Linked DNA regions of Homo sapiens: all the other regions are linked to region 1. The links are contacts of gene promoters, found by promoter capture Hi-C in blood cells and fetal thymus (Javierre and others, 2016). All regions are on one chromosome and are shown on one strand. The core of a region is centred on a gene start or on the middle of the fragment in contact, and the rest is flanking DNA. Distances in the headings are between cores, read along the strand shown. Region 1 holds the start of ACTN2 (actinin alpha 2). Region 2 overlaps RYR2 (ryanodine receptor 2). Region 3 overlaps RYR2 (ryanodine receptor 2). Region 4 overlaps RYR2 (ryanodine receptor 2). Region 5 has its middle 38 kb from the start of GPR137B.

Region 1 (6,111 bases), core at 2,562-5,061:
CTCTAAATCAGCAGCTGCTGCCCACAGAACAAGGGCAGGGGCAACTCGAAGGCTCCCAGGCTCTCTATTTAATCCGAACCCTGTGGGCGGCTGCCTCTGTACACGCATCCTGCCAGGCTGCCTGACCCAACATGGCAACACATTTGCCTAAATGCCAGACTGACAGGAGGTGCTCCAAGGTGAATCCAGCCATCTCAACTGTGAAGAGTACAGAAGAATCTGAATTTCTTTAGGGACTATTAAAAACAATCAGAACACTTAGAAAAGTTTATCTATCATCAAGCCACGGACTGATTATGGACATAAGGACCCTTTACGTATCGACACATATTTCGTGTCCTTAAAAGGTCTGCTCTAGCCTCCCAGTACAGTTAAGGACAGCGTCCTGAGCTTGTGAAGATAGCAAACATATTCAGCATTGCTGCTCTGACAAGTCACCTCCCAATTAGGCTTCAGTTGAGGTACAAGCTCTATGTGTTCCTTGGTTCCAGGAGATGTTTACTTCTAGACACCAACACTCTAAAAGTTTCAACAGTCCACTGAAGAGGTCCCAATTTACTTAGAAATTGATATCCCTAAACTGTGTTCTATATGGTAGAACATTCTAACTCCAAGAGTGTGTCTCAGCATTTCAGTGTCTTAAAATATTGTATCTGGGGCTGAGCATCGTGGCTCATATCCTTAGTATCAGCACTTTAAGAAGCCAAGGTGGGAGAATGGCCAGGAGTTCAAGACCAGCCTGGGCAACACAGTGAGACCCTGTCTCTACAAAAAAAGTTTTTAAAATAAAAAAATTAGCCATGTGTGGTGGTGCATGCCTTGACGTCATGGAGGTCACTTGAGCCCAGGAGGTCAAGGCTACAGTGAGCTATTATCATGCCACTGTACTCCAGCCTGGGCAACAGAGAAAAATCCTGTCTCTAAACATTACATATTTTATATATATATATAAAATATACATATGTGTGTGTATATATATATATATATATATATATATATATATATATATCACATCTGTAATACTGCAGGCATTTTTCTTCTACCCTTGAGTTGTATGAATTAAAATACTTCTTTATAGAAAATATAAATATTCCTAACCCTATTAACACACTCTTCTGTGTAACACACTCTTCCTAACACACTCTTGAAAGAGAAGGTAGACACGTTGAAACGCCTATTCGCACTCATGCTAAACCCACTATCTTCTGCATTCCCTTCTCTTATAAAACTCATTACACTTTTATAAAGTCCTTCTACAGCAAGGCTTTCCTTCCACACCACAGAGCAAGGATTACCATAGCCCATGAGACTCTCTGAACTGTAGATATAATTAGGCATCACATCCATTATAACGCCACGGACGTCATCATGTGCTACCAGCATCTGTTGACAGATCTCATACCCAGCATATCACTGAAATGGCAAGTGTGGAGAAGGCAGCCCACAATAGAAACAATGGTATTTTACCCTTGTCCGGTTCCAGCAGTTTGTCTCATGGGACATAAATAGAGGCCACTGCTCTGGCCACACTGAGCTCACAGTTCAATATTATTTTACTGACTTGAGCAGGGTCTATACCAAAAGTAGAAATAGAGAATCTTCTAGATCTCTCCTAATGTAGTTTTTGCCCCCCAAGCATGTACAACATTCAAACTATCTTAAAAAAAATTCTCACCTTAAACTTTCTAACATTATTTTGGACTGGGATCAGGAAGTATGTTATTTTTAAATAATCAACTTTACTTCAAGTGCTATGCAATTATAATAATACAGTCAACATAGGAATCCCAAACCTAAAAGAATTCGAAGCCATATATCCAAAAATACTGCAAATAAGTTAAAAGATTAAATATGGCAGAAGGGATGTCAATGTGGCCTCTGGAAACTGTCATTACCTCTATCCTGCTACTGTACTGTACTTAAAAAAAAAAAAGGCAACAGAAAGCACTGTGATTAGACCATCACTTTCAAAAATGATGGGCAGACTACCTGTCCAATTCCTTAGCTATTTTACAATTCCTCATAAGAAAGCAATTTTTAAAACAAAGACCCGGGAGTTATCTTTTTTTTTAATCCATGAAAAGTGCAGTAATCAAAATTTGGGGAAATTCTTTTAAAAAAAAACACTCACTGCTAAAAATTAAAGTCACTTTTTAACTTCGTGCTGATGGATGATGCATCAGCTGGTCCAGATGACACATTAGTAATCCTCATGCCTCGTACTTCCTTCACAATCAGTCCTTTAAACAATAGTAGACGGCTTGAAGTTTTGTTTTTTTCTATTTATTACTCCCATTTTCTAAGAAAGGTAGGGATGGTAAAAGCCTTAAGAAACTCGGGGAGAGACTGAAATGTAGCTAAATTAGAGCTTTAAAATAATAATAGTAAATGGTATTTTAGGAGAGAGGGTAGACAAGAGACATCCTGATATAAAAATAGTGCTTGGTTATTTGATAATCATCTCTCCTTCCAGCTAACGCTGTTTGCTGCGAGAGGAGTTTGGGATGTGTGTTCTCCACCATCATACCCCTATTCACCAAATACTATCGCACAATCAGCTACAGTACCCATTATACAGAGATTCCCATACACACTATGGTCACCACAGGCTATCCACCTAAAGCAGGTCCTTAGAAGGGAAATCTATCTTGCCCCACGCCCAGAAAAATAGGCGGAAAAAAGTTCAGAGCGTTTGGCTTTTGCCATAACCCCGTTATCTTAAGGTTGGGTTGGCAGGTCTCTGTTGTCATGTCTGACCCAACCAGGCTCCCTGCCTAGTCAAGTAAGAGGCGGGATTAAGCCTCCTGGTGAGCATTCCCTATTTATTCCAGCCAAGAGGATCAAGAGGAAACCTTGAAAAAGTGGAATGTTCCACTGGGCCCCCAGAGAACGCCAATCAAAATGGGGAGGGAGCTTTTAGAAGCTGGCTGACTCCTTCGTCCCTGTGTGCTTACCTCAATGAATTATAAATAGAGTGTGAAATAATTGTCACTATCGGTAAATGTCTAGTGTTCATACAACATCCCTCTCCAAGGAACCCAAAAGATTGAATAAATGACTTTCCATGACTCTAGGGGCAGCCCGGTGGAAATTGCAATGAAGCTGATGTTCTTTTGCTTCTTTCAATGGGGAAGAGAGAGGCTGGGGTAAATGGACACAAGCGGGCCAGGAGAGTATAACTCGGGGGCCAAGGTCACAGACTCAAGGGGTCAGGAGCAGACCAGAGACCCCTTCAGATCTGGTCTAACGCGGGTTGGTGTGAGGAACAGAACCACATCTGTACCTCCGATGCTGCTAGCGCGCGCGCACACACACGACGCCCAGTGTCCTGCCTGTCCCCGGACGTGTCCTCTTTCCTAAGGGGCCCCCGGGGCTGCGAGGGCACAGGACAGCACAGCACCTCCACAAAGCGCCCTCTCGCCAGTCGCCAGGCCACGCGGCCACGCGCACGGGAGCCCCGCGGGGGACCCGGCCCCACCACGCGCGGGCGGCCCGCGGGCCCCTGCTGACCTTCCTCTGCTGCTTCTCCCAGGCTGGGTCCAGGAGCAGGTCGCGGTCCCACTCCTCCTCCTGGATCATGTACTCATCCTCGTCGTACACGTAGTTGTACTGCACGCCGGGCTCTATCTGGTTCATGGCGCTCGGTTGGCCGGGGCTGCGGCGGGGCGCGAGGGGCTCGGACGCACGGGCTGACTGGCAAACGGACCCACGGAGGCGGCGGGCGGCGGGCGGCGGGCGCGGGGTGACCTTCGCGCGGCTCCTCTCGGGGCGACACGCCTGGGCGCTGGGTCTCGGGCGAAGCACCAGCTCCGGCTGCGAGCAGCTGCCGCGCGGCTTAATAGCCGCGCCGCCCGTCACGTGGCCGCCCGGCCACGCCCCCGCCGCCACCGCCCCCGGCCCCGCCCGTCGGGCCCCAGCCGCCCCGCCCCGAGCACGTGCGGGCGGACAAGGGCGCCGGGCCCCTCCACTGTCTCCCCTGCAGCCGCCGCCCAGAGGCCGCCTGCACGCCTTCCGCCGAGGCCTCCGGGAACGTGAGGGGAGCGGCCGGCCCCGAGCAGAGCCACGCCTGCCACCCACGCTCTGAGAGCGGCTGGTTAGCGGCGCGGGGTCCGTCGGTGTCCCGGGTGGGTGATCGCGAGCCAGGGGAGGGACACCTAAGAGGCTGGGTCCCTGACCACCCCAACACAGCCAAGTTTTCCAAATATCATTTGGATATTCGCGTTTTCCATATATTCCCACATATTCATTGGAGACCCCTCTTCTCTCTCTCTCATCTCTCTCTCGTGCCTCTCTTTCCGCTCATCGGTCCCTCTCTCTTGTGTCTGTCTCTCGTCTGTCTCTCTCTCATCTCTGTCCCTCTTTCTCCAGTGTCTCTCTCTCATAGATCTCTCTCATATCTCTCTCTCATCTCTGTCTCTCCTGTGTCTCTCTCACATGTCTCTCTCTCCTCTCATCTCTCTCTCTCTCTCGTGTCTCACTGTCTCTCATCTGTCTCTCGTGTCTCTCTCCTCTCCTCTTCTCTCCTCTGTCTCTCTCTCCCGTGTCTCTCTCTCTCTCGTCTCTCTCTCTCTGTCGTGTCTCTCTTTCTCTCTCTCATCTGTCTCTCTCTCCTGTGTCTCTCATACCTCTCTCATCTCTGTCTCTCTCTTCTCTCTCTCTGTTTCTCTTCCTCCCTCTCACACACACACACACATACATACATACAGGCCCCTAAGGAGTAAAGTTTAAAAGCTACAGAACCCCCCTCTTCTTTCTCTCCTCCTCACCCTCACCTGGGGAAATCAAGGCACAGGATTTGGATCCATCCTATTAAAATGTTAGGAACCAAACCAAAGGCAGGAAGTGTCAGCTCTCACCTACCGGGCATAAATTTAAGAGAGCTGACAATGAAGGGCAAGCGGCCAGCTTCGTGTTATATTTCCATGTCGCCCTGTGGGTTGCACTTAACGCCTTTTCATCCCCCTAGTGCTGGCTAGCTGTTCCCTATCAGTTATGCTGCCGCAGGAAGCAAAATGAGGACCCTTGGGACAAGTAGGCTGAAATTTTTAAATCAAATATGTATTAAGCAACTACTGTAAACCAGAGGTTGCCTTAGGCACCAGACGAGCTGATGGGATGCCTGCCTGCAATTCAGTTTATATCTCAATTGAATAAACGTTGCCCACAGATGCTACAGAATTTTTTGTGATTCAGGGCTACTAATTTGTGGACATGTTTCAAGTTGAGTTTGTCTGGATTTATCATTGTTCCTTAGAATTTTTACATCACTCACCGTTACTGTTTGGGGCTTTATGCAGAAAGATAACAATTAGCAAACAGGTTGCATTAACTTTGTTTTGTTTTGTTTTGTTTTGAGATGGAGCTTCACTCTTGTTGCCCAGGCTGGAGTGCAAGAGCACGATCTCGGCTCACCGCAACGTCCACCTCTCCGGTTCAAGCGATTCTCCTGCCTCAGCCTCCGGAGTAGCTGGGATTACAGGCATGTGCCACCACACCCGGCTAATTTTGTATTTTTAGTAGAGACGGGGTTTTTCCATGTTGGTTAGGCTGGTCTCGAACTCCCAACCTCAGGTGATCCACCTGCCTCAGCCTTCAAAAGTGGGGATTACAGGTGTGAGCCACCACGCCCCGCCACATTAACATTTTCAAAAACATTCTCACTAGGATGTAAATTCCTCAAACGCAGGGATTTTGTCTCGTCCACAGTTGTAGACCCCAGCAACTACAGGCGTGTCCACCGCACAGTGGTGCTCATTTGTTGAGAGAAGTAGTATCCCTGGAAATAGTGACTGAGCTAATTTACTTGGATTTAAATTTAAAATTTAGAGTTTATATTTTGGATTAAAATCATACTCTTGAAACAAGTGGATCAATAAATTTTACCTATTAGAAACTGGGCCGGGCACAGTGGCTCAGGCCTGTAATCCCAACACTTTGGGAGGCCGAGGTGGGTAGATCACCTGAGGTTGGGAGTTCAAGACCAGCCTGGCCAACATGATGAAACCCCATCTCTACTAAAAAAAATAAAAATAAAAAAATTAGCTGGCTGTGGTGGCATGCACCTGTAATCCCAGCTACTCAGGAGGCTGAGGCAGGAGAATCGCTTGAACT
Region 2 (6,111 bases), core at 2,038-4,537, 890 kb before region 1:
CCAAAGATGTAGGGGCAAAATACAGGCTTGAAATCTCTGTTTGGGGCTACAATAAAAGGAAGATAAAGCAGATCACAAGCGTACCAGCTTTTCCTAAGAATAAATTATTTCAAATTTTAACATTTCTGAAATACAGTTAAGAATCCATGTATTAAATATATAACCCAAACCAAATGGCCAAAAAGCAGATAAAAATGACCAATATTATATGAAGATGTAAATTCACATTTTTTGATCAGAAGAAAAGGTAACAGCTAGCTGCTTGTGGCCTACTATGTGCCATATAATACATAAGTACTTTTGCCTATATTATTTAATATTAATCCCATTTTTTCAGATGAGGAAACAACTAAGATGTTAAGTCATTTGTCTAAGTTTCTATAGGTAGTTAAATGGATGCTAGAATTTGAATCAAGAATGCTGAGAAGGACAATCTACAAAATGGGAGAAAGTATTTGCAAACTATGTTTCTGACAAAGGTCCTAATATCCAGAATCTATAAGGGACTTAAATAACCCAACAAGTAAAAAACAAATCACCCCCATTTAAAAAATGGGCAAAAAAACATGAACAGATACTTTTCAAAAGAAGACATACAAGCAGCCAACAAACATGAAAAAATGTTCCCATTGCTAATCATCAGAGAAATGCAAATCAAAACCACAAAGAGCTACCATCTCACACAGTCAGAATGGCTATTATTAAAAAGTCAAAAAAGAACAGATGCTGACGAGGCTGTGGAGAAAAGAGAATGCTTATACGCTGTTGGTGGGAATGTAAATAAGTTGAGCCACTGTGGAAAGCAGTTTGGAGATTTCTCAAAGAACTTAAAACAGAACTACCATTCAACCTAGCAATCCCATTACTGGGTATATATATATATATATCCAAAAGAAAATAGATCATCCTACCAAAAACAGAAACACGCACTCATAGGTTTCATCCCAGCACGATTCAGAATAGTAAAAACATGGAATCAACCTCAGTGCCCATCAACAGTGAACTGGATAAAGAAAATGTGGTACACATACATCATGAAATACTATGCAGCTATAAAAAAATGAAATCATGTCCTCTGCAGCTACATAGATGCAGCCAGAGGCCATATCTTAGCACCCAGGAACAGAAAGCCAAACACTGTGTATTCTCACTTACAAGTGAGAGCTGAACACTGGGTACTCATGGACATAAAGATGGATGGCAAAAACAGAAACTGGGGACAACTGTGGTGGGGGGACAAGGGTTGCAAAATTATTGGGTGCCATATTCAGTATTTGGGTGAAAGTATCAATTGTACTACAAACCTCAGCATAACACTATATACCCAGGCAACAAACCTGAACATATAGCTTCTGAATCTAAAATCAAAGTTGATTTTTTTTTTTTTTTTTAAAGAATGCTAGCCAGGCACAATGGCTCACTCCTGCAATCCCAACATTTTGGGAGGCCAAGGTGGGCAGATCATCTGAGGTTAGGAGTTTGAGACCAGCCTGGCCATTGTGGTGAAACTCCATCTCTACTAAAAATACAAAAAAAAAAAATTATCTGGGTGTGGTGGCCAGTGCCTGTAATCCCAGCTACTCAGGAAGCTGAAGCAGGAGAATCGCTTGAACCCAGGAGGTGAAGGTTGCAGTGAGCTGAGCTCATGCCACTGCACTCCAGCCTGGGCAACAAGAGCAACACTCTGTCTCAAAAAATAAAATAAAAATAAAATAAAAATAAAAAATAAAGAACTCTGAGAGGGAAGGTAAAACACAAACAAACAGAAAAACACTTGCCTTTGATTTCTGGAATCTTAGAACTGAACTAGACAAGAAGAGATCATCTCTAATTTGTGTTTTTATTTTAAGGAAATGAAAACAGGCTATTTGCCCAAGGCCACACAAGAATCATTTCAGAATTGGGTTGTACTTGGATTCCTCTGCTATAGAAGTTGGCCTCACAGTCCTGATTTCTTCCTTCCTCTGACAAGTGTTGATTTTTAATTAAGGAGATTCCCAATAATAAGTTACTCTCCCAGGTCTGTATCATGATAGCAGGTTGCACAGAGGATGCTGGTGACAGGAACTTCAGCTGTTATGGTAAAGCCAGGCAGGTGGGTTTGGGGATGGTACAGACCTACTAACCTTAATTCACACCATGTTGAAAACCAGACTTCTGAATAAGCCACCCATTTCCATCAAATAATCTAACTGCTGCAATATTTCAACTGAGGGTACAAAGCATACTGTAGGAACAAACTAGTAGTTCTATATCCTGGCTTCTTTTTTTTTTCTAAAACAGCAGCATGATAAAATCAATAATGGAAAGTTTTCCCTGCCTCTCTTTTTTATTTTCTTTTCTGTCTACAGCTATACAGCTATTTTAATTACAAAAATAATCTGGTTTTCTCCCGAGGAAAGGAATTCCATGAGTTCTGAGAGGACCAGGAATTCAATTTTACTCACACTCCTTTCAGGTGGCAAATACAGACTCAAAAGTATTGTTTCTGGATTTGATTATAACCATCATGGGCCTCTGAGATGATCTTTACTTGCAGAATAGCTGAGAAGCTTGAAATGGACAACACAAGATACGTATCCACAGCAGACACTGTAGAATGTGGTAATCTCCAAACATAAATAACCGTTCTTTTACCATAAACTATACATCAAGATTTTAAGTGACTCTCTCACTTATTTTTAATTAAGGATATGGTTAGCTCTTCAAACTACTGATAATATAAGGCTGTTCCCGTAAGAATAAATTGAGAATAGTACTAGCTTAGTAGGGGATGCAAGAGTAGAAGGGGTGGTGTATTGGTCAGCTCAGACTGCCATAAGAAATGATCACAGACTGAGTGACTTAAACCACAGAAATGTGTGATCTCACAGTCTGGAGGCTGGAAGGCCAAGATTAAGGTGTCAGCAGGCTTCGTTTCTCCTGAGGTCTCTCTCCATGGTGTGTAGATGGCAGCCTTCTGGCTGTATCCTCACATGGTCTTTTCTCTGAGCACAGTCAACCCTGGTGTCTTCTCCTCTTCTTATGAGGACACCAGCCATACTGGATTAAGGCCCCACACTATTACCTCATTTAACCTGAATTACCCCTTTAAAGGCCCCATCTCTAAATACAGCCACATTGAGGGTTAGAGCTATGCAACTCAGTCCATAACAGGTAGAATGGAGACACGGTTTGTATTCAGAACGCTGTATCTGCCAGCAGACACATGTCCACCAAAGCCATGTGTGTGGAGCCCCAAGGAACCCGGAAATCATCCCTCATTAGAAGAATTTGAATTCTACTTTATGGGAAATTCATTTCATTACCCCTTAAGGCATTTCTTCATTTTTTTTTTTTTTAAAGCATTGTTGGGGCCTGGCGCAGTGGCTCACGCCTGTAATCCCAACACCTTTGGAGGCTGAGGCAGGCGGATCATCTGAGGTCAGGAGTTTGAGACCAGCCTGGCCAACATGGTAAAACCCCATCTCTACAAAAAATACAAAAAATTAGCCAGGCGTCGTGGTGTGTGCCTGTAATCCCAGCTACTCAGGAGGTTGAAGCAGGAGAATCCCTTGAACCTGGGAGGTGGAGGTTCCAGTGAGCTGCGATCACACCATTGCACTCAAGCCTGGGCAACGAGAGCAAAACTCCGTCTCAAAAAAAAAAAAAAAAAGAATTGTTGTGATTTCACGTGGCTCTGGAGGAGCCAAGCAGAAGCAGAGTGAGATGTGCAGTCTTCCTCACAGTCGTAAGAATTAGCCCATAGCGCCTAAGTTCTTTCAGCAGACAAGCACACGCTTCACATCAGAGAAGACTCTGTGCATGGTTTTCCCTATGCCGTCAATATGCTGGGTAAATCAGATATCATCTGCGTTTCTTCACTGACATTCCTTTGTCTTTATTGTTTTTTTCCAACTTTATTGTTGCTGGTTTTGTTTTGCTTTCCTTACACTGAAGTTTGAATTATGTACATATTCGGTATGATATATTCTGTAAGGGAATCTGGAGTTTATACTATGTGATAGTTAAGAACAAGCTTTGGTAGAACAGGTTAACAACCAAACTGAAGAACAAGTGAAGAAGGGAATACATTTAGGTGAGCATATGACATGTTAATTAATTACTGACTTCATTTTAGGGAGATTTAGTATAATTTTAATACAAATTAGGTTTAATATAGGAGCTCAAGAATGCACTTTTTTCCTATTAAATTAATAATAGTTTTTTGACCCATGGAAATTTGCCCTATGAGTGTGCTTTAAGAAGTAAATTTTCCCCCAGTGCAGCAGCTCACGCCTGTAATCCCAGCACTTTGGGAGGCCGAGGCAGGTGGATCACCTGAGGTCAGGAGTTCGAGACCAGCCTCACCAAATGGTGAAACCCTGTCTGTACTAAAAATACAAAATTAGCCGGGCATGGTGGCGCATGCCTGTAATCCCAGCTACTCTGGAGGCTGAGACAGGAGAATCGCTTGAACTCAGGAGGCGGGGGTTGCAGTGAGCCAAGATCACGCCACTGCAGTCCAGCCTGGGCAACAAGAGTGAAACTCTGTCTCAAAAAAAAAAAAAAAAAAAAAAAAAGAAGAAGAAGAAGTAAATTATCCTCACGTGGCAAGGAAGAGAGCACAAGGCAAAGAAAAAGTACAATTTATTATTAGCTGGTATTTGGGACTCAAGTTCTGATTTTTTAAATTGGTGAGCTGGGCTTAGATCATAAATGAACTAGAAGATTTGCTTCTGTTTCTCCAGAGACTTAGAATGAAAGGCACTGGTTGGCCTTCTTAGTTGTGTTTTGTTTCTTTTTTTTTCCCTCTAAGCTGATATCTGATTCTCAGTCCTTAAGATGTTACTATTCTAATGGTACAAAAGAACAGGGAGAGATAAACCCAACCCAAGAGGTCATCAAGGAAGAGACCATTTCTCCATGTGGCCAGGACCATCTTAAGCCATTCACTGCAGGACTCTTCTGTTCCCAGAGGTCACAGACTTATCCCAAAGATGCAGGCAGGAAGAGACACTGAGGGAGCGTACATGCCCCCACTCCCACCACCTTATCAAAACTGCAGAATGGGCGAGAGACACTGAGGGAGCGTACATGCCCCCACTCCCACCACCTTATCAAAACTGCAGAATGGGTGAGAGACCTTAACAAATCTCCAAAATTACCCCCAAAAGAGGCATTGCAAAATAAGTCTCCAAAAAAATAATACCTCCAAAAGGGGCATTGCATCAACTCTAGTTCAGAAATCTTTTGAAAGAAATTCTCTTGTGTAGGCTTATGTTAGAAGATGGAAGGGAGACTTCCCTTTGGAAATAGGCTTCCAGAGAAGGCGGCAATGGGAAGCACCAAAGGACTATGTAGGATATGAGGCAATCAAACACTAGGGAGTTGGAGAAGATAAAGAAATACAGAGAAGCCATTCATTCAAAGCCGTTCATTTTGCTTGGGGAGTTCCCCTACACATACAAAGCACCCTGCTCATAAAAGAGAGGATACTACTATGACCTGTACCTGAGCCATTTTTTTTTCTGTGCTAAAATGAAAAAATTGTCTCATTTCATCCACTTGTGCTTGAGATCACACCCCCCTTCACCTTATCAGGAACATGAGTAATTATCTCCTCTCATACTTATACCTTTATCATCAATTTCTCCTCTTCTTACTAGATCAGTCCCAAAAGCTCTACAGACACAATCCTGTTTCTTCTTTAGGAATTTCAGAACAGGTGTGGTGGCTCACGCCTGTAATCCCAGCACTTTGGGAGGCCACAGCAGGCAGATCACCTTAGGTCAGGAGCTCAAGACCAGCCACCAGCCTGGCTAACATGGTGAAACCCCGTCTCTATTAAAAATACAAAAATTAGCCAGGCATGGTGGCATGTGCCTGGAATCCAAGTTACTTGGGAGGTTGAGGGAGGAGAATTGCTTGAACCCGGGAGGTAGAGGTTGCAGTGAGCTGAGATCGTGCCACTGCACTCCAGCCTGGGTGACAGAGTAAGACTCTGTCTCAAAAGAAGAATTTCAAAATACACAGAAGTGGACCGTGGATTACTGATAAACTTTTGTTTGTGACACACTCTCATCATCACCTGTTTTTATTTATTTAGTTGGTTCTTTTAAAAATACTCTT
Region 3 (6,111 bases), core at 1,695-4,194, 860 kb before region 1:
GTCTCAGACCAAATGCTAATTCCCATGTACCTGTTGGATGCCATAAGTCCAGCCCTGCCGGATTCGATCCCGCGCCCACACATTATGTGCATTTTCTGCCAACTTGTCCACCATTGCTTCTTGTGATGGGGTGAGTTTGATAAAGCTCAGGTCCATAGGGGCAGGCTTGTATCCACTTGTCAGCTGGTAACTACAAATCAGAGACAAAGAAATTTGTGTATAATTGGCCTTTTCATAAAAATCTCTGTAAATATCATTTTCTGGCCCTACCTCATTACTGTTCTTCCATAAACCACAGTGGTAACCAGTGGTGAAGTACCAGACAGCAAGCCTAGGTTCCTTTCACTTTAGCTAATAACTGATCAGAATGAAAAGCCACATAATCTTTGTGTTTTTGTTTTTACACCAATAAGACAGAAATGAGACAACTTACCTGTCTCTCAGAGATGAAAAGGACCTGTCATTGTTTGTGTTCCTAATAGCTGAGGCTTTTGTATAGTCTAAATCAAAATATTGGTTATTTATTGAAATATTTTAGAGATTTCTCTTCCTGTGAAGTCATTTTTCTTCAATTGTTAAATGTTAGATTAATGTAATATTTATTTCATAAATCAGTGTATCCTTCAGATACTACCTATTTCTTATTCCACAGGGAAATTTAAATGCATTTGTAACTTATTTCCTTACTGTCATTCCTAGTTACGTTATTTAGGAAGACTAAATAAGATAGAGACTAGAAAGTAAAGAAAATCACAGCTATATAACCATCTAAAATCTGATTGCATTTTATTTCCCTAGAGTTCAAGGATCTCTTAGCAGAGACTGCTTCTACATTCTAGGCTGGAGAGAGAAGGTATTATCGTAATAAAACAGGTATAAGTTGTAATCGTTGGAAGAAATACAAAGTTGAAAATATTAACTTTTCAATGCACACATATAAGGGCAATAGTACTGCCCTGCTCCACACAGACACACAGCGCTTCATTCTATTTAACTACTGAGATTGGCACAAAGCCTATTTTATAACTGCTTTTCTTCCATTCTTCTGTCACTGTTGTATTCTCCATTATTGACTATACCTTGAGGTCAGGATCTGTTTCTGATTCATTTTTCTAACTGCCATTATCCTTAAAACAGTTCCCAGCAGATAACAGCCTTTTCATATACAGTTGTTGAAATAATTAATTTCATTTACCAAATTAATATAAACATAAATGCATCTTCAACTCAAGAACGTTCACTAGGTAATTATGCTAAGTTACAAAATTAATTATTAAAACATGAGAAAATGCTTTTAAAAATAAATGTGAGAAAAGGCCGGGCACAGTGGCTCACACCTGTAATCCCAGCACTTTGGGAGGCCAACGTGGGTGGATCACATGAGGCCAGGAGTTCGAGACCAGCCTGGCCAACATGGTGAAACCCAGTCTCTATTAAAAATACAATGATTAGCAAGGTGTGGTGGCGGGTGCCTGTAATCCCAGCTATTCGAGAGACTGAGGCAGGAGAATCGCTTAAACCCAAGAGGCAGAGATTGCAGTGAGGAGAGATCACGCCACTGCTCTCCAGCCTGGGTGACAGAGCAAGACTCCATCTCTAAATAAATAAATAAATAAATAAATAAATATATATATATATATATATGCTTTTGAAAATAAACTACAAATTCTCTTAAAAATAGACTACTAATCTGGGCTATGACTGGCATCATTACAAGGCAAGCTCCTTGAAAGCAGGGAGTTTGTCCATTTTATTCACAGTGACCCCCCAGCACCTAGAATAGTGACCAATACATGGTAGGCATTCAGTAAAAATTTGTTGAATGAATCAATATATTACAGCAATAAATAACTTTTTTAAGGTTGAATACAGATGGCTTTAGCTTAGTTACTTCTATTTTACTATAATACATCCCATATATTGTAAGTAATTTATGTATAGGCTGGGCTTGGTAGCTCACTTCTATAATCCCAGCACTTTGGGAGGCCGAGGCAGGTGGATCGCTTGAGGTCAGGAGTTCAAGACAAGCCTGGCTGATATGGCAAAACCCCATCTCTACTAAAAAATACAAAACAATTAGCTGGGCATGGTGGCACCCAACTGTAATCACAGCTACTTCGGAGGCTGAGGCATGAGAATCGCTTGAATCTGGGAGGCAGAGGTTGCAGTGAGCCGAGATTGTGCCACTGCACTCTGGCCTGGGTGACACGGCGAGACTCTGTCTCAAAAAAACAACAACAACAACAAAAAAGTAATTTATCTATAGACACAAAAAAGTAATTTTTCTGTAGACAAAAGCTTTACCAATGTTTTGTTTTGAGTAGATTATAACAATTAGGACAAATTACTGATCTATGTCATTCAATTTACATTCATAAGTTAAATTTATGGACATTAAATTTTGTTCCATTTTAAATAAAAACTCTGTTTGTATGGGCAATTAACTGTAGCTTTTGTTTTTTAATAAAGAAGCCATGTGGGAATTTTTTTTAACAACTTCTATAAATCATTGTATTCGACAGACTTCTGACATTTAAATAGGCAAATCTATAAACTGTAATCACAGCTGAAGATATAAGTTCTTATTTGAAAAGTATTTTCTTTTATTTTAGAATATATAGATATAGATATATTTATGTATTTAAATTAAAAAAAACCCAAAACATTAATATATATATTTTACATATTATATATTTATGGTTTTGGGTTTTATTTTTGTTCTTTTTTGAGGCAAGGTCTCACTTTGTTGCCCAGGCCGCTCTTCAACCCCTGGCCTCAAGCAGTCCTCCTGCCTCAGCCTCCCAAATTGCTGGGATTACAGGCATGAGCCACCACTCCTGGCCTGGAAAGTATTTTTTTTTTTTTTTATTTTTCAAGAAAAAGCTCCCACTGCATTTCAAATGCACCAACAGGTAATCAAGCTAGCATAGTCTAATTTCCAAGTTTAACAGTTTGCTGGAGGCAGCCTCAGGGTACATGATGAAGAGCCCAGTCTTCTGTACTTCCTTGCTTCCTCACAACTACTTCTCACTCCCCACAACTGGCCCATGGTCACCCAGCACAAGCCAGCACACAATCTTCTTTCACTTTTCAGCAGCCTTGATCCCATCTAGCAGCCACAGAGGCCACACAGATGATGAAGTTTCGATATCCACCTGTGAATCACTGATCGGAGCCATTGCTACCCTAATGAGGGATACATGCATTCCCAAAGAGGAGTGATACTTTCTGGAAACCAATTTTTAATGGTAGACTTTCTAGCAATATCTCATGGAATGAGGAAGTACTTTTGAAAGGTGGAAGGTGGGAAGGAGGTCTTTCCCAATAAAAACTTATAGACAAGTTATGCTAATGTGCGAAGCTGGATAATATTGACAAAATCATTCCTCTTTATTTTCTACATTGTTTTCTTCCCATACAGATTTCTTCTAGAATTGCTTTAATCTGTGATCTCAATGAAAACTTATGGAGATGCATTTGCATCTGTTTAAGTAGCCCAATAATTTGTTCACATTCATCTTCAGATGTAAACTACACTTTTTTAACCTTCTTTCCTCTATAACCTTGTACGAGAAAGGATTTGAAGCTTAGAATTGTTTTTTTAAATGGCTAATAATCCCATCCAAATTATAGTTACAAACTCTCACTTCACCTGAACCTTTTTATTTCCACCTATTTTGAACAACAAATCATTTGTACAGTAAAAATAAACATGAACATCTATGAAATTCATGGACTTTAACTAATTATAATGGATAACACTATTGACATCATGAATGTTTCACCAGTATGAATTAATGGTAACAGCAATAATTTATGAAACGAATTTTCTGTTTGTAGTACATTCTGACAAAGGAGCTAAGAATCAAATTGTTATATCAAAATGAGATATATTTAAAAGTAAATAAGTACAGTTTGACAATGTTCATTTCACCTTATTAATACAATTTAATTAGGTACACAGAGGACAACCAACTGCTAATATGAATGATTATCTTCTTGTGGTTAAAAATGAACAAAGCCTTTGAATCAAATGTAATTGACATGAACCAGAAACTGAACACTTTCAAGTAAAATTTCAGATTGATTTCCAAAAAGTTAAAGTAAATAAAAGAAAAAATACTAAAATAACTCTTGGAAAGTAAAATTTTATAGCCACCAAAATGGGAAAAACTCCTATTATTATTATATTCATACAAAAAACATATAGCTCATATTAAGATGTCTCTGTATTACATTCTACTTTCTCAAACATCATGAGAAACTTCTGCCAGAATCAGCCGACAGACTTTTCTCTCCTCCAATTTATTTACTGAACAGGTATAAGTAGCTTTTACCCCCTTTCTTTAACATGCACATTCTCTGTGCCATCAATCATCCTATAAAATTAGCTTATGAGGAATATATATGAAATTAAACAAATGATTTAATATGCTCACTTTACAAAGTATCAAAATACTTTTATAGTTATTAGCTCTTAGTTTTATTTTGGCAACTACATAATTTAATAAAATAAAATAAAAAAGAATAAAACAACAACATTGAGAGTAATCAAATACCTAACAGTTTAGGCTTTGCTTTCCCGATAGCAAAATTTTTTTTAAATACCTCTGAAAACAAAACAAAACAACAAAGATCCTGGCCAACTGTCGATTCTATTTGCATCAAGTCACCAAAGATATAAACAAAAAATTGACAGTGTTTGGCTCCACTGGGGAATTTTCATGTTAAGTTGCAGCTCAGTTTTGTGCTTCATTCCCATCTGACCCACATTTTTCCTAAGCAGGTATTCCAGATGAGTCTTTGAAACAAGGGCTCAGTGTAATGTAATTAAAGGGCCAATTAAAGTGATTTAACAAAAACAAGGCAGAATACCAAAAACAGTAAGCACCAACCTTTTGTTTTTTTTAAGCCACCCCCACCTCCCAAGCTTACTTGTTTAATATGGATCAAGTTAAATGAAGCTTGGAAATCATTATATTGTGAAAGATGTACAGTAAATATGTAAAGGCTACAGCCAAGTTCAGGGAGTGTTAGCTGTAAATTTCAAAGCCAAATCAGCCCTTCAAGTACCTTGGAACAAATGAGAAATCTCAGATGACTGCACACCAGAGACATTAAGAGCAAGTTTTGCTGAAAGCACATCTACTAGAAACGAATACTAGGCTGACATTTTCACAGAAAACATATAGAGAATATTCAGAATCATTCTCCAGAAAACAAATACAGAAGGATTAATTTCCAGAAGGGAGAAAACAAGGGTTATATTTCTTCTACTTTTTTACTTTTGTTTGTTTTTAAATAAAAACATGTAATATGAAGATGTGCCCTACTCCCCTGACCCCAAACTCCTTTTTACTTGAAGGGCTTCCTACACCCCTCAGCCCCTTTGAAACAAGACCATGAAGTATCCACTGCTCTCAAGAAGGAGGCATTTCAAGAGAGAGAGAGGGAAAAAAAAGCTATACTTGGCTTTTGGATTTTAAAATGTCTTTGAATATTCAATGCAGAGACAAAGATCTTTATAGCAGGGCCTTGTGATATTAAAATCTCTGCTTTTGAATACCAAAGGAACAAAGCCCTTATGCCTTAGGACAGAAAAGAACAGATAAAGAACCCAGGGCCTCCAGTCTAAGATAGGCTGAAAATTCCAGAGCCTACAGGAGGGGAGAGTCAGAGGAGGCAAGTTCTCCCCAGCCTTCTGCCCAAGTGAGGACCAGATAGATCGCAGAGCCAAAGTGAGCTTCTATCTTGCTTCCTATATTGTACTCAGCCAAATGGCAGGGTCTCATAATTTCACAGATCCAAACCCATGAACAGTACAGATATGGTGACAAACTAATTCCAGGCTGATGGGGCTGTGGCAACCCTTCCTTCTCCCTCCACCAATAGGCTGCAATCTCCAAGCGGCCAGAGAGAGCATTCTTAGCTTTCCAGCACTCCTAAAGAGGCCCGGATGAGGCACGAGAAGGAACAGTGACTCACAGAGGGGAGGAGGGCACCCAATGTGAACCCAATATCAAATCAGTGCAGAACACAAACATCCTGTAAAATGCCAGCAGAGATGAATGAAGACAATTCAGTCGAAGACAGCAAAGTCAGATGAGAATG
Region 4 (6,111 bases), core at 1,733-4,232, 740 kb before region 1:
CAAATCATGACCTTGTTTTGAATATATTATACATGGTACTTAACATCTTTTCCTCATCTAATAACATTGTTATCAAAAATCCAACTTGAATTGGGCCAGCATACAAAATATGGGAAAGGCGATTGAATACTAAGAATTTCCTAGCAGTGAAAAAACAAAGTAATACGTTTTTTTCTTTTCAATGAGCCCTGAATAACACTGTGAAGATGCCTATACCTAGATGAGTATGTAGTAATTGCAGAAATACAAAGTCAAATCTTTATCTATTTAAAAGAACAAAGTTTTGCCTTTCTAAGATGAAAGCTAGTTAGTAGTTTAATATTGTTCCAATCATCTTTCCCAAGTTTCACAATCTTCATTAAATTATGAACAGAAATATGCAATTGATATGGTTTGGCTCTGTGTCCCCACCCAAATCTCATCTCAATTTGTAATCTCCACGTCTCGAGGGAAAGACGTGACTGGATCATGGGGCGAGTTTCCCCCATGCTGTTCCCCTGACAGTGAGTGAGTTCTCGTGAGACCTGATGGTTTTTTTAAGTGTTTGACGCTTTCTCCTTCACACTCACTCTCCTGCTCTCTCTCTCACCTGCCTCCATGTAAGACCTGCCTGCTTCCCCTTCTGTCATGATTGTAAGTTTCCTGAGGCCTTCCCAGCCATGCGGAAGTATAAGTCAATTAAACTCCTTTTCATTATAAATCACCCAGTCTCAGGTATTTCTTTATAGCACTGTGAAAATGGACGAATATAGCAATTATCATAAAAATGATTCAATAGGGTTAAGGATGAAGGTCCGCATATAAGAATGGATGTATAAATGTATCTTTGAGACACAGATTCCAGTGTGCTTTATCCTCACACTGTAACCCAAAAACATCCCAATATCTGTGGTCACTGTATACTGTCAATGCTTAAGAAAACAGGAAGGAGCTGGATGGATGTGTTTTAAGAACTGTAAACGACATGAAACACCTTTCATTTGATGACGTATAATAGGTATTTTCATGTTTTATATTTTTGACAGCTTCATACTATCCCAATATGTATGTATACAGTATGATTTATGCAATCATTACCCTTTATGTAATCATTACCCTTTATTGTACATTTAGATTGTTTCTATAGGCAGGTTTTAATGGTTTAGAAAAGTCAGTTTTACCAGAGAGGAATGTATGGAAGAGAAACTGGGAATTTAGAAATACACATAAGACATACTTACATCATTTATTTTCTCATTTCTTTTCTCCTTTCTAACATCAAAGGAAATATGACCGGGTAACATTTATAGGAAACCCAAAATATTTTCTGTCTCACCTTGGAAGACCGGAAGGTAAATGCTGTTGATTTTACATCAGCTTTCTCTTTGTCCATGAGTAGAAGGTTTTTGTCTTCCATGAGACTCAAGTATTTTCCTGTTGTGACATGGCGTAGTCGGAATGGCTGTCCCCATCTTATGTGGCTTCCACTCCACCTAATGAAAACAGTTAGGACTTGATCCAATAGCACCCACAATCACAGAAGGAGTAGCTATTAAAACATATGTCGGACAATGAACAGTCATATATATTGTCTTAATGTTCTCAAAAAACTTAGGATATTAGTGATATTAATTTCATTTCACAAATAACAAAATGGCTATTCAGAATGATAAGTAATACACAAAGTCGCAAAGCTTATAGTAAGAAGAAGTTAAATGTAACTCAAGGTGTTCTGACTTAAATGCCGTACCATCCACACAGCGCCCTATTCTATGCAAAGATAACAAAGAACTTGTGCTCCAAGTCACCCTCTAATACAGATTAGTCAAGCTCTAATGCAAATAATGCAGGAAGTATAACTCCAAGTAATATTTTAGCATTTACTAGTTAAAAACTGTTGCTGTATTTGCACAGACTTGAAAAACAGTAGTATTGTGGTCAACGTCTAAGTATGATTAATTGGAACTCATATATATAAACTGAAGTCTATAGTTAGACTATATTTACCTGACAAAAGAAATGTATTCTTATACTTTACATTTTAATATTGTGGAACAATTATATTATTAGAACGCGATGAACAAAAAAGATAAGCCAAGAAAATGAAAATTCTAAAAAAGTCAGGAAAAAATGTAATAAACAGAAAATATAGAATGTTTCAGTAAAATGATAAGTTATGATCATTAAAAATTTGCTTTGAAGGATACTGAATGTTGTTAATGCGCAGAAATGATAAACGTTTGAGATGATGGATATGCTAATTGATCTGATCACTATACATTACCTGTATCAAAACATCACTATGTACCCCATAAGTATGTACGATTATCACTTGTATATTAAAAATAAATAAATGACTTTCAGGTAGGATAAAATAGAAAAATCAAAATACAAGCTGTTCTTGCTTTGCACATTACCTTGTTAACTGAAGGTTGTGTATTTAGGAGCTTTAACCATGCTAAGGTGCAGAGTGATGGCACAGTTCTATCGTGCATGACTTTCCCTTAACACCGTACCATGCAAAGTGAGGACAGGCCATATATATCATTGATAAGACACAAGCTTAAGATCAAAGCACGCAAGAAAACTAAAAACGAATGAGTAGAAAAGATTCAACAAGCAAATAAACCTCAAAAGGAAATGACAAATTTGATATTAGATAATTCCAATTCAAGGCCAAAAAGCACAAAAGGTATACAGCCAGATATGTTATGAAGAAAAAGTGTATACTCTAAAAATAATGAATGTTGTAAAGCTTCATATGTCAACAACAAGCAGAAAATGAAACATAAGGATAATTTTTTAAAAGACAGTTTACACTGGATGATTTTGTCAAAATACAATGAGTCAAAGAAAAAGTAAATATATGGAGATTTTCAATATAATCTTATTATTTAATAAACTTGGGTTCATACAGACTTATTAAAAATGTTTGTGTTCTACAAATTGAGAGTACTTGGTTCAAAGCTAGCAATCTTTTAGTAAATTATAAATCAATTTAATGTTGTTTTCCTAACCTGGATTTTTGACTTGAGATGTTAGCATAGAAAATTAGCAGTAGAATGTTATAACAAGTTCATTTTCACATGAATTTGTTTATAAAGACAATTAATTTGGGAAGCCCCCCAATTAAGTTAATAACCGTATACTAATAAAACCAGATAACACGGTATTGTCTTAAGATGAAATTAAAGTTTGTTACCAATAATAGCACATTAAAGTATTTCTATTTTGGAAATAAACAAGCTTTTTAAAATCCTCCTCTTATAAAATTAAGTGTATTGTTTGCAAATACTATGAAAACCACAATTATCATTATTATTATTATTACTATTATTTTTATTTTGAGACGGAGTCTCGCTCTGTCACCCAGGCTGGAGTACAGTGGCGCGATCTTGGCTCACTGTAAACTCCGCCTCCCGGGTTCAAGCGATTCTCTAGCCCCAGCCTCCCGAGTAGCCAGGACTATAGGCGCCAGCCACCGCGCCCGGCTAACTTTTGTATTTTCAGTAGAGACGGGGTTTCATCATGTTAGCCAGGATGGTCTCGATCTCCTGACCTTGTGATCTGCCCGCCTCAGCCTCCCAAAGTGATGGGATTACAGGCGTGAGCCACCCTGTGCCCGGTCACAATTATGTTTAATATTTGTTTCCATTATTTGAAAAACAATGAAATATTTGGAAATATGTTTAATATTTGTTTCCATTATTTGGAAAAACAATGAAATATTTGTAAATAATGAATCACTTCTGAATAACAATTCATCTTAATCATCATGGAACACACCTTCATTTTCAAAACAGCACAAAATTTTAACCAGATATATACTATTTGCTAGCGTATCTGGAAGATGTTCTGGGCTCAGTTCTATTCAATAGAACTCATATGTACCAGTGCTCCTTTGAAGTCTCTAAGAGGATTCTGGTAGAAATGGAATGAATGTGGCCAGTTTTTGGCAAAACCACTGCATAGTCTAAGTCTAAGCACATTTGCTTTCATTTCCAGCCACTCAAACTAGCCTGGTCTCACATGCCCAGACCCCCACCTCCTCCCAAATGAGAGGGCAAGGCAAGAAAATCATATGTAGTAAAAACTAAAATTGGCAATAGTAATGGAGTTTTATAAAGCAATTTCCTATGGTAACATCAAAAAACTGTGCCCTACGTATTATCGATATTTACTCAAAATTACCTCAAAGGGAATTGGGGAATAGTGAGTACTTCTTTATGATATGTCACCCTTTAATTTTGTTTATTTGCAACATAAAAAATAGAACTTGAACTCTATGTAATTCATAGTTTTTATTTCCATGAGTATTCCTATTACAGGAACTAACACATATCTCACTTACAATATCCCTATAATTTTGCCTGGAGTAAAATATAGGAGAGCATTTTCTATTCAATTTAACTCCCTACATTAAAACCATTTATTAAAAAGGCCATGATACTGAAAAACTTTTGACAATAGTTTCATGTGTAAGAGTATGCAGTATAAAATATATAATGAATGGGCCACATCAACTACAACAAATATATAGTATAGGATCTCACTGGAGAAAAGAGAAGACCGAGTATCCCAAATATTGAATATAAACATTGGCATTAGGCAATATAGTTCTATCACAAACAAAAGCAGGATCTTCACTATAAATTGCTAAATATAATGCAAAATTAGTAATTATGTGGCCATTGCATATAAGACATGTAAACTTCCTAGAATGAAAGGGATTTAATTAAAAAAATAAAAGCTCCTAAACTGAATGTAGCTTAATTTACATATCTACAATAAAGCCAAAGTAGTTTAAAGAGTCAGTATAATCTGAAAAACTTCTTAAAATAATGATATTCCGTACATATGAATCTCCTACTTTCCTACTGCTAGACAGGAAGGTGAAATTTAATCAAGGGTCAGAGAGAAGAACAAAACATCTCTCTTTAAGCTGCTAAATGGTTGAAAAACTACCTGCTCTGCCTTCTCTGTGGTATTCCCCTCAGTGACATCTGGACTATGAGAAGCAAGTAGCATTCCCTTTCCCCAGTGGCTGACCATAAGATCATCTCCTTTCTATATATTGATTATCTGTAATCAAAGTGAAAATAAACTCCAAACTTCTATTTCAAAATACAAACATAAGCAACAGTAGAGAGACAGGATCAAGACTACTTAATTCAGAAGTTTGAAGAATAATCTAGATTTATGTAGTCACAGCTCATCAATAGTATCGATAACAATAAAAACAAAGTCCTATCAGGTTTTCAGAAGCTTTCATGTTTTTTTTTTAACCAAAAATAAGACAGATGTAGGGTCTCTCTCTACAAAAAAGATAAATATTTCTTTAAGCACTCAATCATGAAGTATAGGTATGTCTCTAAATTTTGAAAACACATATTCAATCTGTTTTACAAGGTCAATACAACCTCTCGAAACTGCACTTATAGTGACAATTTAATTACATATATAATTAGTAATTATGTATACAATTAATTTGTATAAACACTTCTTTACTCTTTCATTTTTATAATACACAATGTAAAAAAATATGAGTAATACTTAAAATCCCTTTCCTTAAATTATCTGAATAATCACAAAATATATAAAAGCTATGAGTTTTCCTTTGTTTGCCTTAGAAGTCTGTCTCTTCTTTTTCCATCTCATTATGATATGCATTTCCAATAAAAATTTTCTTTTAAGTTTGGTAGTTACCAAAAGTTTTAATATTTAGGTAGATTTGATCAATTGTGCATTTATATCAAAGACATTTAATGTTTTCAATTAGTTATTAATGACAATATAGAAGAGCTTTTTAAAGTTACAGACTAACATAAGAAATATAAGAAATAAATTTATATAAATATTTTTGTTGCAGAGGAGTAGGATGTAGTGAAAAGGAAAGACTGAATAATATATATTTTTATTGTTAAAGAAGACCATTTTCAATAAACAAAGGTATTAAACCACAGCATTACTTACAGTCAATTGGATACTTTGAAAAGGGTGATGTAACCATTTTATTTTAAAGTATCACTATTTAAAATACACTGGAAGTTATATTCTATGCATCTAAACTGATAATGAAAGGATTTCTATGTCAACCTCACAGTGTTCAAGAATGGACAAAGTTTTTCAAAA
Region 5 (6,111 bases), core at 1,232-3,731, 580 kb after region 1:
CAGAAAGCAAAGGCTGGTGTATTCGATCATATACTATACGTGGATGAAAAACGTTTCAGTCTACCTCAAATTTAAAAAGCAATTTTCTGATTCTGGGAATCATGGCTTGGAGGCATTGTGATTCACCCTTGCAAATTTCTGAGAAATTAGTCGGTAGAGAGCAGAAAGCAAACGTGAGAAGATATAATTAAAGAGGCCAGATAGGGATAAAGGGCTTATTTACATCAAGAGTCTTTCAAAGAAAAGAGAAACCAAGCAGTCAGTTGAATGTTAAAAAAAAAAAAAAAAATTAGAAACAAGGCAAAGACAAATGACCATACCAGAGGAAGCAGATACATCAAAAAGTCAGAAAGATAATGAAAGATGAGAATCTCATTGTAGAGTATACAGGTTTAGATTAATTATCAAAAGCTCCGCACACACATTTGGAGAGAAAAAAGAGAATGCAAATTCAGAGAAAACTCAAAGTCCTCAGTTATTTCCTTCCCATCTCCCTCAGCCTCAGTTTCCCCATCTTATGAAACCAGATGACCTGTAAGGCTCCTTTCATATCCATATTTGTAATTCTACAAAATAAATAGCTGCATGAAGATCTTTTACTTCTCAGTTTTTATCTCCAAAATTTCGTAGCCAATTTTTGTAGAGAAAATAAAAATTACATATGAGCAAGAAAGGCTAATTAAAATAATCTTACCACCTAGAGATAGCCACTGTGAATATCTTTATGTATATTCTTCCCTATTCATATAGGCATACATAGAAATAATTTTGTATAAATTTTATTATGGCCTTTTTTTTTTTTTTTGAGATGGAGTCTCGCTCTGTCGCCCAGGCTGGAGTGCAGTAGCGCCATCTCGGGTCACTGCAGGCTCCGCCCCCCGGGTTCACGCCATTCTCCTGCCTCAGCCAAATATTGCAAGGATGTTTTCTTGTCTTGGTTTCCTTTCCACACCATTGTCTGTGACCGCTGCCAGGTATTTTAGTCTAATGAAAGTATCGGTATAATATTAGTTGCAGTGAAAATGTGTGTCCAGATTGGAAAAGATGAAGAAAGCTGAGAAAAACAACATTTTTCCTTGCATGATGCCTTCTACTTTACAAAAGACTTGTATAAAAGCTTTGTATGGGAGGCCGAGGCGGGCGGGTCACGAGGTCAGGAGATCGAGACCACGGTGAAACCCCGTCTCTACTAAAAATGCAAAAAAAATTAGCCGGGCGTGGTGGTGGGCGCCCGTAGTCCCAGCTAGCTACTCGGGAGGCTGACGCAGGAGAATGGCATGAACCCAGGAGGCGGAGCTTGCAGTGAGCCGAGATTGCGCCAGTGCACTCCACCCAGCCTGGGTGACAGAGCAAGACTCCATCTCAAAAAAAAAAAACCAAAAAAAAAAAACAACTTTGTAATCAGCCGGGTGCAGTGGCTCACACCTGTAATCCCAGCACTTTGCGAGGCCCAGGCAGGCGGATCATTTGAGGTCAGGAGTTGGAGACCAGCCTGGCCAACACGGCGAAACCCCATCTCTACTAAAACTACAAAAATTAGCTGGGTGTGGTGATGCATGCCTGTAGTCCCAGCTACTTGGGAGGCTGAGGCAGGAGAATCACTTGAACCCTGGAGACAGAGGTTGCAGTGAGCCAAGATCACGCCTCTGCATTCCAGCCTGGGCGACAGAGTGAGACTCCATCTCAAAAAAAAAAAAAAAAAAAAAAAAAGCTTTGTAATCTACAAAGTGTTTTTACATCTTCTCTTAAGACTGCCCAACTAGCAGCGTCTAGCATATGGGTAGTGTCAATAAGTGTTATTAAATAAATGGGAAATCAAACAAATATGCATTATCATATGTATCCTTATGAAACTGGGATTTGGTAGGCCTCATTCTCATAATTTTATGAATGTTTTAAAGCTGCATCTATTACCTTGATAAAATCCATTATAATTTACATAGTATCCACACAGACCGATCTCATTTAAGCCTCCCAGCCACTCTGTAACTAACTAGGGTAGATAGCATCAGTCTCATTAAAGAGAGGCAGAGGCTGAGGTGGAGATAATCAGGGTCAGATAGTCAATCAGCGGAAGAGCTTGACCTTAGACTCAAACCCATGACACTTTCAACTGCTTCCCGACTGTGACCAAATGTCCCGCCCCACCTTTATTTAAGCAGTTTGTGCTATAGTGAGGCAGAGTCACCAGCATGCAGGTAAATGTTTAAAGTTCAGCTCTGGGGGAGTGGAGGGAGCCCTGATTTGTGGAGTTCGCTGATTTCTCTGGTGTGAATACTGCCACATGGCGGATTTGAAACTACTGACACAACGTCATGGTGTCATTGTGTAGAGACGTGCACAATCAGCTCAAAGGTGCTAGCTGGCTCCAACGCATCCCTGGGTGGAATGAACTTTCTTTCCACCTGATCGTTAATTCCTGGAGGCCAGGAACCACATCTCTTTGCAGTTTTCACTGTGCTATGCACACAGACGGCAGTGCATCAGCGTTCGGGCTCAACATCAGGGTTCAGCCTGGGTTTCCCATTCTCTGGTTTCCTCACCTGCCAGCCCTCTTCCCCTGGACCTGGGGAAGTACTTGGAGACAATCCTGCCCCCTTTACCATTTCCCTTTCCTTCCTCTCCATTCATGTCCCGGTCACAGCCTGAGGCAGAGTCATGGGCCCAGTGCAAGAAGAAAGGCCATGGGAACCTTAGGATCTCGTGGGGTTTTGTTTGTTTGGCTTTTTGTTTGTTTGTTTGTTGAGACAGGGTCTTACTCTATTGCCCAGGCTGGAATGCAGTGGCATAATCACAGCTCACTGCAGCTTTGACCTCTACGGCTCAAGCACACCACTATGTCTGGCTAATTTTTTTAATTTAAAATTTTGTTCTAGAGACAAGGCCTCGCCATGTTGCCCAGGCTGTTGGATCTCATGCTTTGTGGTGTTTTTTGTTTGTTTGTTTTTGAGATGGAGGCTCGCTCTGTCGCCCAGGCTGGAGTGATCCAGCAAGCTCACTGCAAGCTCCACCTCCCGGGTTCAGGCCATTCTCCTGCCTCAGCCTCCCGAGTAGCTGGGACTACAGGCGCCTGCAACCACGCCCGGCTAATTTTTTGTATTTTTAGTAGAGACGAGGTTTCACCGTGTTAGCCAGGACGATCTCGATCTCCTGACCTCGTGATCAGCCCGCCTCGGCCTCCCAAAGTGTTGGAATTACAGGCGTGAGCCACCGCGCCAGGCCGCTTTGTGGTCTTTTAAGACCAAGCTTAGAGTCTTCTTCCTGTCCTGGAGTTCCGGCACTCACCTTCTCAAGAAGCTTGGGCAGCTGCTTCCATGGGGGCCAGTGGGAGGAAGAGAGGGAGCAGATGGGAGACGGCTCTGACCCTCAGTACCGCAGGGCCGTTGCTTCAAAACTGAACTGGCACAAAACCCATCAACTGTTTGGAAACCAGGATTCCTGGCTTCTGGTTTTACTGCCCAGGGCTACAACTCTTGGGGCTATTTTTCTTGCCAGACATCTTACTGGGATTTTCTGCTGTGGAGAGCACCTCGTGCTGGTCTGCGCTGATAAAGAAATGTCATTTTCTGGAGGGTTGGTTGATGTGCGGATCTTGAAACAACGAAGAGCGCGCAGGGAGGCGGAGAAAAGACAGACTTTGGCGCCATCTACTGGAAACTTCTGTTTCTGCATGATGTGGATGAATTGGATAAAACTGACAAAATGGAAATTGTATGTATATTCTGTTCTTTGATACATGATTGATGTCGAAAATCTCTTATAAGAAGAAATATAGAAAACATATATTTAATGAATCATGAGTTAAATTCTAACTTCTCCTCTACTAAAACTTCTATCAAATCTGCTGTCAGGCAAAAATGGTTGAATTTTCATTCTACTCCAACCCACCCTCCCTTACAAATACTGTGCTAATATTCAGCAACATAGCAAGGACTAGAGAAGGGACAACAGCCAAAACAAAGGCTGCGCAAGTCCACTGGCCTGAAAATCAAGTCCAGAGAAAAGGGAAAGTGATTCTACCTGCAAACCAACCCAGCCCCTTGTCTGAGGAGGGGGTGGACAGGTACCTCCAGCAACTTCTAAAATCAAGTGACCACAGCAAAACGGAAACAAGAAAAGATGCACCAGCTGCAGTCACCGCCGAGCCCCTGCTTAGCGGCAGCTTTGCTGGAGAGTGTCTCCCTTTTGTGGGGTGGGGCCAGAGCCTCAGACACCTGGTGTTGGGGGCAGATGCCTTCCCTCATTCCAGCTTCACCTTCGGAGGCTGATCTACAAAGGCCAAGCCCCAGGCCGCTGGGCTTCATTTCCACACCAAAGAGCAGAGTCAGCCATGCCTCAGGCTGCTTTCTCTCTGCCACGTTTAAGTTTTAGTTCATTCAAATCCATCTTCAGCAACTTAATTGCCGTACAGTATTTCAGCACACTGAAAAATAACCTTTTCTCACACCGAAAGCACTAGACCTGTTTTTTCAGTGCTGTGATTTGTTGTCTGATATCATTCAGAGCTTTTCAAAAGCTGCCGCCGCTATCATCTTGCAACGGCCTGTGAAGTGGGTGGGAAGGTGCTGCTCCTAGTGCCAAGAGGGGAAACTGAGGCCCCTAGAAGGCTGAGCGCGTCCCGTCACCGCGCACGGCCCCTCCAGTGCCTCAGCCAGGTTCTCAGCCTCTCTGTGATGACTTGCAGACCAGGGAGGTTGACCTCATGTGGAGTTCCGGGTGGGGCCACCCTCACCAAAGCCTGCAGGGAGCTGCTGTCCCACCCACCCACCCCAGGCTGCCGGGGCAGGTGTTTCTGGGGCTGAAAGCAGAAATGTAGGGGAGAGAAAACACCCCCAAGGACTCTGTGGAGAACACTGAGCTGGGGGGTGGGTTGATACGAGTTCACCAGTTATATACATTTTAAACAGAGACGGGGCTTCGCTATGTTGACCAGGCTGGTCTCGAACTCCTGGGCTTAAGGAATCCTCGTATCTTGGCCTCCCAAAGTGCTGGGATTACAGGTGTGAGCCACCGTGCCCAGCCTTCACCAGCTATTTGTTGAGCACCTACTGTGTGCTGGTGGCTTCGGGAAGACAACGACAGACCGGACGCTGTGTTGTCCTCAGGAGACGTCCAGTTAGAAGGAGCAGAGACAATGGTACAAATAACTACCATGCAAGCAGGAAATGGCCACTGTGCAAGATGGGCTGTGCTAGAAGACCTCAGAGCAGGAGCGGCCCTTCCACAGGCGGGAGGGACAGGGGAGTGCTTGGGGGGCCTTTAATGGGCCTCCGAATGGGAGAGTAGGTGTGAAAATGGTTTGGGATCAGATAAATTCTGTGCCCACACACTCATGCACACTCATGCACACTCACACTCCCCACACTCACCCACGCATACACATACACCCACATAACACACATGCACAGCCACATTCACACACACAACACCCACATAACACTCTCACACACACTCAGACCCCACACACACACTCACATAGCACTCACACACACCACACACTCATGGACACTCACACTGACACAACACTCACCACACTCACCCACGCATACACATACACCCACATAACACTCACCCACATGCACATCCACATTCACGCACACAACACCCACAAACACCCACATAACACTCACACATACACTCACACCACACACACACCCACGTAACACTCACCCACATGCACATCCACATTCACACACGCAACACCCACAGACACCCACATAACACTCTCACACAAACACACTCACACCACACACATAGCACTCACACACTCATGCACACTCACACCCACATAACACAACACTCACCCACACTCACCCACGCGTACACATACTCACCCCCACATAACACTCACCCACATACACGGCCACCTTCACACATACAACACCCACAAACACACCTACATAACACACAAACACACACACCACACACTCACATAGCACTCACACACTCACACCCACACAACACTCCCATGTACCCACATGACACTCTGACACATATACTCACACACACCCACAGAATTACATTTACATACACATGCACACACGTACACATACACACAACACCCACACACACACATGCATACAAAGACACCATGTACACACACACATGCAT

Evidence for each region. Contacts are between HindIII fragments. The CHiCAGO score rates a contact against its expected background, and 5 or more counts as called.
Region 2: a fragment that was not itself captured here is called in contact with the fragment with the promoter of ACTN2 in region 1 in 1 of 17 cell types (M2 macrophages); the score reaches 5.4 in M2 macrophages.
Region 3: a contact is called between a fragment that was not itself captured here and the fragment with the promoter of ACTN2 in region 1, in 1 of 17 cell types (M2 macrophages). The highest score is 5.2, in M2 macrophages.
Region 4: a fragment that was not itself captured here is called in contact with the fragment with the promoter of ACTN2 in region 1 in 2 of 17 cell types (M2 macrophages and M1 macrophages); the score reaches 5.6 in M2 macrophages.
Region 5: a fragment that was not itself captured here is called in contact with the fragment with the promoter of ACTN2 in region 1 in 1 of 17 cell types (fetal thymus); the score reaches 5.2 in fetal thymus.

What each region holds. Positions count from the first base shown.
Region 1 is chr1:236,684,199-236,690,309 of GRCh38, reverse strand. ACTN2 (actinin alpha 2) reads right to left here and starts at 3,811. Exons shown (of 21, transcript NM_001103.4): 1 at 3,511-3,811. The coding sequence starts at 3,636. RefSeq lists an enhancer at 1-2,227 and a silencer at 3,866-3,955. The HindIII fragment of the contact is 13,171 bases long and covers 1-6,111 here.
Region 2 is chr1:237,577,700-237,583,810 of GRCh38, reverse strand. All of the region lies in intron 29 of RYR2 (ryanodine receptor 2), which reads right to left. Among named protein-coding and RNA genes, the nearest start is that of MIR4428, 110 kb to the right of the region's middle. The HindIII fragment of the contact is 1,466 bases long and covers 2,555-4,020 here.
Region 3 is chr1:237,542,510-237,548,620 of GRCh38, reverse strand. RYR2 (ryanodine receptor 2) reads right to left here. Exons shown (of 105, transcript NM_001035.3): 26 at 31-190. Among named protein-coding and RNA genes, the nearest start is that of MIR4428, 74 kb to the right of the region's middle. The HindIII fragment of the contact is 1,288 bases long and covers 2,301-3,588 here.
Region 4 is chr1:237,418,453-237,424,563 of GRCh38, reverse strand. It overlaps RYR2 (ryanodine receptor 2), which reads right to left. Exons shown (of 105, transcript NM_001035.3): 12 at 1,316-1,472. Among named protein-coding and RNA genes, the nearest start is that of MIR4428, 50 kb to the left of the region's middle. The HindIII fragment of the contact is 491 bases long and covers 2,737-3,227 here.
Region 5 is chr1:236,101,348-236,107,458 of GRCh38, reverse strand. No RefSeq gene overlaps it. Among named protein-coding and RNA genes, the nearest start is that of GPR137B, 38 kb to the left of the region's middle. The HindIII fragment of the contact is 1,535 bases long and covers 1,714-3,248 here.